Regions from separate parts of the Homo sapiens genome. Here region 1 is linked to region 2. The links are contacts of gene promoters, found by promoter capture Hi-C in blood cells and fetal thymus (Javierre and others, 2016). All regions are on one chromosome and are shown on one strand. The core of a region is centred on a gene start or on the middle of the fragment in contact, and the rest is flanking DNA. Distances in the headings are between cores, read along the strand shown. Region 1 overlaps DCUN1D4 (defective in cullin neddylation 1 domain containing 4). Region 2 holds the start of SPATA18 (spermatogenesis associated 18).

Region 1 (2,700 bases), core at 37-2,536, 150 kb after region 2:
ATTGTTATGTGAAAGGGCTTAATTCACCAATATTAATTGAGACTCTCCTTTAAAACAAAGGATGTACAAAGAAAGAAATTACAGAGTCCCTCAATCTGCCAGGAAAAATTAAGGCCTGTACTCAAACTCCAAAGCCAAGTAGAGGAGACACCAGGGGTATGTAACTGAAACCAGCACAATCCCACCCCGACAGGCTGATCCCTGACAGGCTGACCAGGAGGCTGTGTCGAAGCAGAAGCACATGGCTCAGACCCAGGGCCTGGATGGGTACAACTGTGCTAATGCAAACGGGGCTCTAGGCAAGGGCCCAGCACTCCCAAAGGCAGAATGCAGAGAGGCCAGGAAGCAGGGCCAGTGAGCAACCGTTAGTGCAATTTCATCATAATGCAGGCGTTGAGTGGGGAAGCTTGGGACTTAGTTGTGAGGGTCTGGAGTAACCCACATACTAGACTTGGAGACAGAAGGCCTAGGTTTGAGTCATGGATCTACTATGAACAACGTGGCCATTTCTCCCCTTTGCTGAAGCGCACTTTCTTACTCTGTAAAGTGGACTGAAACCACCCCGGCTGTCCCTCAGAGCTGACATGGGAACAACTGTGTCGTATACACAGGGAAGTGCTGGGTCGATATAAACACAGTGGGGAGGTACTAGAGGCTGTGGGGAGCAGGAAGGTGGCTGAGTGACCCAGGGGCTGAAGGAAGACGAATGACACCCTAGTGATGTGAGCACAGGGTAAGAAGTGAAAGAATGTGGACATGAGGCTACCAGAAGAGGGCTGGTAAGGAGAAGCAAGGCCTCCACCGGTGAGGCTGCAGTGGAGGCACCAAGAAAAAGGTGGCCAAAGAGCACTCATGAGATGTGCCAGGGTGACTGCCCCAGAACAGGACGTTAGCCAGGGAGGAGTAAAGCAGAACCTAGATCTAAAGCACATTGGATATCTGGGAGAACTGTGACTCCCCCAGTCAAGGAAGTTAGAAAATAGAGCTGATTTGGGTAGAGAAGGTATGATGTTTCTAAATGAATTTCTACCCATACTATAAGAAACAGCTGACTTTGGGAGGAAAAAAAAAACTCATGAAATAAACTATATAATCCTAGAAACCAGTCAACTATTCTAAAAGCATCTAGCAAAAAAAAGCATCTGGCAAATAACTTCCTTTTTCTTTTTTTAACCTCGAACTCCTGTTCTTAAGCAATCCTCTTACCTCAGCCTCCTGAGTAGCTAGAACTATAGGCACCATATCTGGCTAATTTTTAAATTTTTTTATTTGTTTTGTATAGAGACAGGGTATGTTACCCAGGCTGGTCTCAAACTTCTGGCTTTAAGTGATCTTTCTGCCTCAGCCTCCTAAAGTGCTGGGGTTACAGGTATGAGCCACTGCATCTGGCCTGGCAGGTAACTTTTATATATTATTATGCAAATGCCATTTTATCAAACACTGTATCTGAATTTCACCTTATCGTTTTTAACATCAATAAATTTCTATGCATGGTGTGATTTAACTAGAAGGTTGTAATAATAGGAAAATGCATGAATGAGGGCACCACAGAGAACGTTATTGCAAGATGCATCAAAATTCACCATCAAATAAACCTTTGGTGCTGAACTGGCAGAGCCAAAGAGAGTAAAAAGTGAAAAAAATCAATATGGTGGTAAGGAAAAAAGAATAAATTGTCACCGAGTTCTCTGCCTTAAAAAAAAATAATTTAAAAAAGTGCAATCAAACAAGAAAGCCTAGTCACCTGAATCCACTAAACAAACAGACCTAACAGAAAACATCATTTCAGAATAAATTGTAATTGTATGGGATATAGATTTTGTTTGAATTGAGTATGATGCCAACTGGTGCTTCAAAATTCTCTATGTATGGTGACTAGGCTGAAAAGTAAGATTTTTATTTCACTCCAAGGGAACCACTTTCACATACTTCGACTTGACTCACTATGTGACAAATAGGGTAACTGCTTTTCAAAACGATGATTAGAAAAATACATTTAAGTAATGTATTACATTAAGTAATGTAAGAAATTAGCTTACGTCTAAAATTCACATGATTTCCAAATACAATAATAGCACCCACGGTGAATCTGAATTAGATATGATTAGCTTATTCTAGTAAACTCAACAGGAGAAGGTTTGTTGTTCTGTGAGAAGGAAAGCTTTTCCAACCTTATCTAAGAGACATTTAAGACAGTGTGTATTGCATGCCCATGTCACTTTTAAGCCAATTCCAAGAGCCAGTAAACGTCTGCCACTAGAGCTTTTTGCTGACCTACAGAATGTTTGACCAGAATCAAACTTAGTTTTCAAAAGCATACATGTAGAAAGAAATACTAACTAGCATCCTGGGAGTTAACTTATTCAAGTTTTTTTGCTGTGGCATGTAAAAACTAACCTCAAAAGGCAATTTAAAAAGGGGAGGGAAGAGAGGGAAACATCTGGATAGGCTCCAGAGAACTCACCCGTGCAAAGTCAAACGCATATCTGTAAATAAGTTTAAAGTTTGTAGAATCATTTAAGAATGATCTTAAGTAATCCAAAGTATTTCTGAGTTTTTCTGTTGTATCACATCTAGAAAAACAGAATAAAGGCAAATTATGACCTGAGTTCATTTATTTATTTTTTTAATAGAGGCAGTAATATAAACACAATACCAAAGGAAAGAACAAATCCCTGAAGTTGAAACACATCCATAACC
Region 2 (2,700 bases), core at 96-2,595:
AGTTCTATGCAGAGCCAAATGTAGAAACAAGGGGGGGCTAATTTCCGGTCCACAGTTCTTTTGCCTGGCCGCTCCACTTATTATGTAAGAGGGGAAATCCCTATTTAAGACGGACCGACCGAATGTAAAGCAAATTCAACACTCACCGTTCTATTTGGGGGAAGGGGGGAATTATGGGGAGGCAGGGTGCGAGTAGGGATTAATGAGATTTGAAAAGTGCTCATGGGTTTGGTGACAGAATACTGGCTTCTCACAAATGCCTGGAAAAAGGCCTGAATCCGCCCTGGTGTTGGAACTGTGCCTCAATTTCCAGGCCCACCAGCACGCAAGTGAAACCCGCAACGTTAACAAGTGTCCGTTTCGCTGATTTCTGGGTAAATAACTCCTGGGTGTGTGTTTATACAAATCCATTCTGATACAAACCCTGGGCAGGAGAGGGTTGTAGTAAAAAATAATTCGGGATTGGGGAAGCAGGCGGTGTGGATTGCGCTGGCAAGGGGGATGGGAAAGAGTGGCAGGCATGACCAGACCAGCCGCGGACAGCAGGGCTTCCCTATTGCTAGGTCGCCGGCGTCCTTAGTTACCACTGATTGGAAGCACTCTCCAGTCTCCGCAGCCTAGTGCTGCGCTCCGCAGGCCGCCTGCGCGCCGCCTCCCGAAGCTCTGAGACAAGGGCATGTACACACATGTCCTTCCTTCCCCAGCGATCCCGGTCGAAAGCTGAGATCCTGGTTAGGAATCGCAACCGCGGAGGCTTTGCAAAGTGGCCACCAACTCCAGCCCTAAGAAATCCCCGACAAGGGCTGTGCTGGAACCTATGGGAGGGCGAACCCCGGGGGTTTTTCACCCAGACTCACGTTGTACTCCTTCAGCCAGAAGTCTAGCTTTTCCTGCAACGTTCGTAAAGTTTCGTTTGAGACCAGTCTTTTCAGGTTTTCCGCCATCGCTCACTATTCCTCTCGGCCCCACGCTGCGCGATGGAGACTTGGGGGGACCAGGCGGTGGCCTCCGCAGGACCGTGGGGTGATATGGCGGGAAGGGTGTTCTCTTCTGGGGGGCTCAGAGCGCGGCAGGTGTTTCCATCCTCCCCCTCGGGTCGGACCTGGCCGGGTTCGGGAAGCCAGAGGGGAGGTGCCCTGGGCCGCAGCCGCCGCGCCTCATCCGCCGTCCCGCGCGGTCTCCTGGCTCCCCAGCAGCCGCCTGAGCCCGGCCATAGATACCCTGGCGATTATTAAACAAACCTTGACGTGGACGGGTTGGCTGCCAGGGACGCGCGCGGCCCGCGTCGTGGCAACGCCCGCGCCGCCCCGCCCTGGGTGACAGCCGCGCGCCCCAGGGGTGGACTGAGACGCGCAGCCGCGCGGGCTGGAGGGCAGCAGGGCGTCTACAGCATTCCTCCCCATTCGGGGTTCTGGGTGCCCACGCGTGTCCAGAAAAGCAGAAGTTAAGTCTCTATAGAAGTTTGGGGCTAGGCTCTCAGGAGATCACCTCTTTGGCCCCTTTATTCTTTCGCCTTTCATTCCTTTAATTCTTCATTTGTAGCGCCTTGGGTTTACCTGTATGAAACTTGTAACTAAAATTTCAGTACTTCTTACTTCTAGCTTTTACTTTGTTCCTTGACCCACTGGGTGGGTACCCAAGTTAATAGAGTTTAGCTCCAGGATGTTCACAAATTAAAGTTAATCCCTCAGGTTTGGATAAGATTTGGCAGTATGTATTTTAGTACTTTTTTTTTTAGAGTCATTGAGCACTCTAAAGCTTCATTTAATTCTGAATTCTCTAATTGGGACTTTCTTGACCTAGTTTGGCACTATTTCAAAAGTGTGTATTCTGCTACAGAAACAGGTTCAACTACTTAGGAAACCATTTCGACCATCTTTAAGCGCTTTCGAAGCAAGCTCTTTTATATACCATCAAAAAATGTGCTGATTATAAATCATTCCTATCCATTCATTAAAACAGCGGTGGGGAGCAGAGCCTCAGCTGGTTAGCTAGCTAGTTTAACTTAGTTTCATCTCTGTAGGTACTTGAAAATCTGTGAACACTGCATATATTCAAGTATTGTAAAATCAAGAATTTTCACCACCTCTCATTTTTTATTTCTCTTGATTACAGTGGCTTTACTATCTGCTAATGAAAATGAAAGGCTCAGTTTTGGAGCCTGTGTTCCTACTATTTTCTGTAGACCACAAAATAAGGACTATAGGGGTATAACATGTTATTTGATTGGAGTAGAATAATAATTTCTAATGTTAAAAATACCCACTCAACAAAACAGCTAAATATTCATTAAACAACTTCATATATATATATATATATATATATATATATATGTAAAATGAATTGAGAAAAACTTCAAATTTCTCAATTTGGACCTAATAATTACATATTTCTACAGGCATTTGGAATCTTTGAACAGTCCCATTTACTTATTCATAAAAACCCATATTGGAACATTTATGTCAGATAAATTAGAGGTAAAGGATTTTTCCTTGCTGTGAGCACCTTAATTAGCCTGTAATCCTTGGTTTCATCATCTGTAAAAGGAAAATAATTCTCTCATAGGATTATTATGAAACTTAGTAAGATAATTCATGTATTTAGTACAATGCTTGGCAAAATGCAGTAGCAATTGCTCTAGTAATTGCTGTTTATTAAATATAAACTAATACTGGCCTACATTTGCTATTATTAAGAATG

What was found. The method cuts DNA at HindIII sites, captures the fragments that hold promoters and counts their contacts. A CHiCAGO score of 5 or more calls a contact.
Region 1: a contact is called between a fragment that was not itself captured here and the fragment with the promoter of SPATA18 in region 2, in 1 of 17 cell types (monocytes). The highest score is 7.8, in monocytes.

The regions. Positions count from the first base shown.
Region 1 is chr4:51,899,143-51,901,842 of GRCh38, reverse strand. It overlaps DCUN1D4 (defective in cullin neddylation 1 domain containing 4), which reads right to left. Exons shown (of 11, transcript NM_001040402.3): 8 at 2,465-2,573. Among named protein-coding and RNA genes, the nearest start is that of DCUN1D4, 57 kb to the right of the region's middle. The HindIII fragment of the contact is 1,755 bases long and covers 409-2,163 here.
Region 2 is chr4:52,049,949-52,052,648 of GRCh38, reverse strand. It overlaps SPATA18 (spermatogenesis associated 18), which reads right to left and starts at 1,345. Exons shown (of 13, transcript NM_145263.4): 1 at 858-1,345. The coding sequence starts at 944. RefSeq lists enhancers at 553-902, 695-1,194, 1,195-1,696 and a silencer at 1,073-1,372. The HindIII fragment of the contact is 3,697 bases long and covers 1-1,760 here.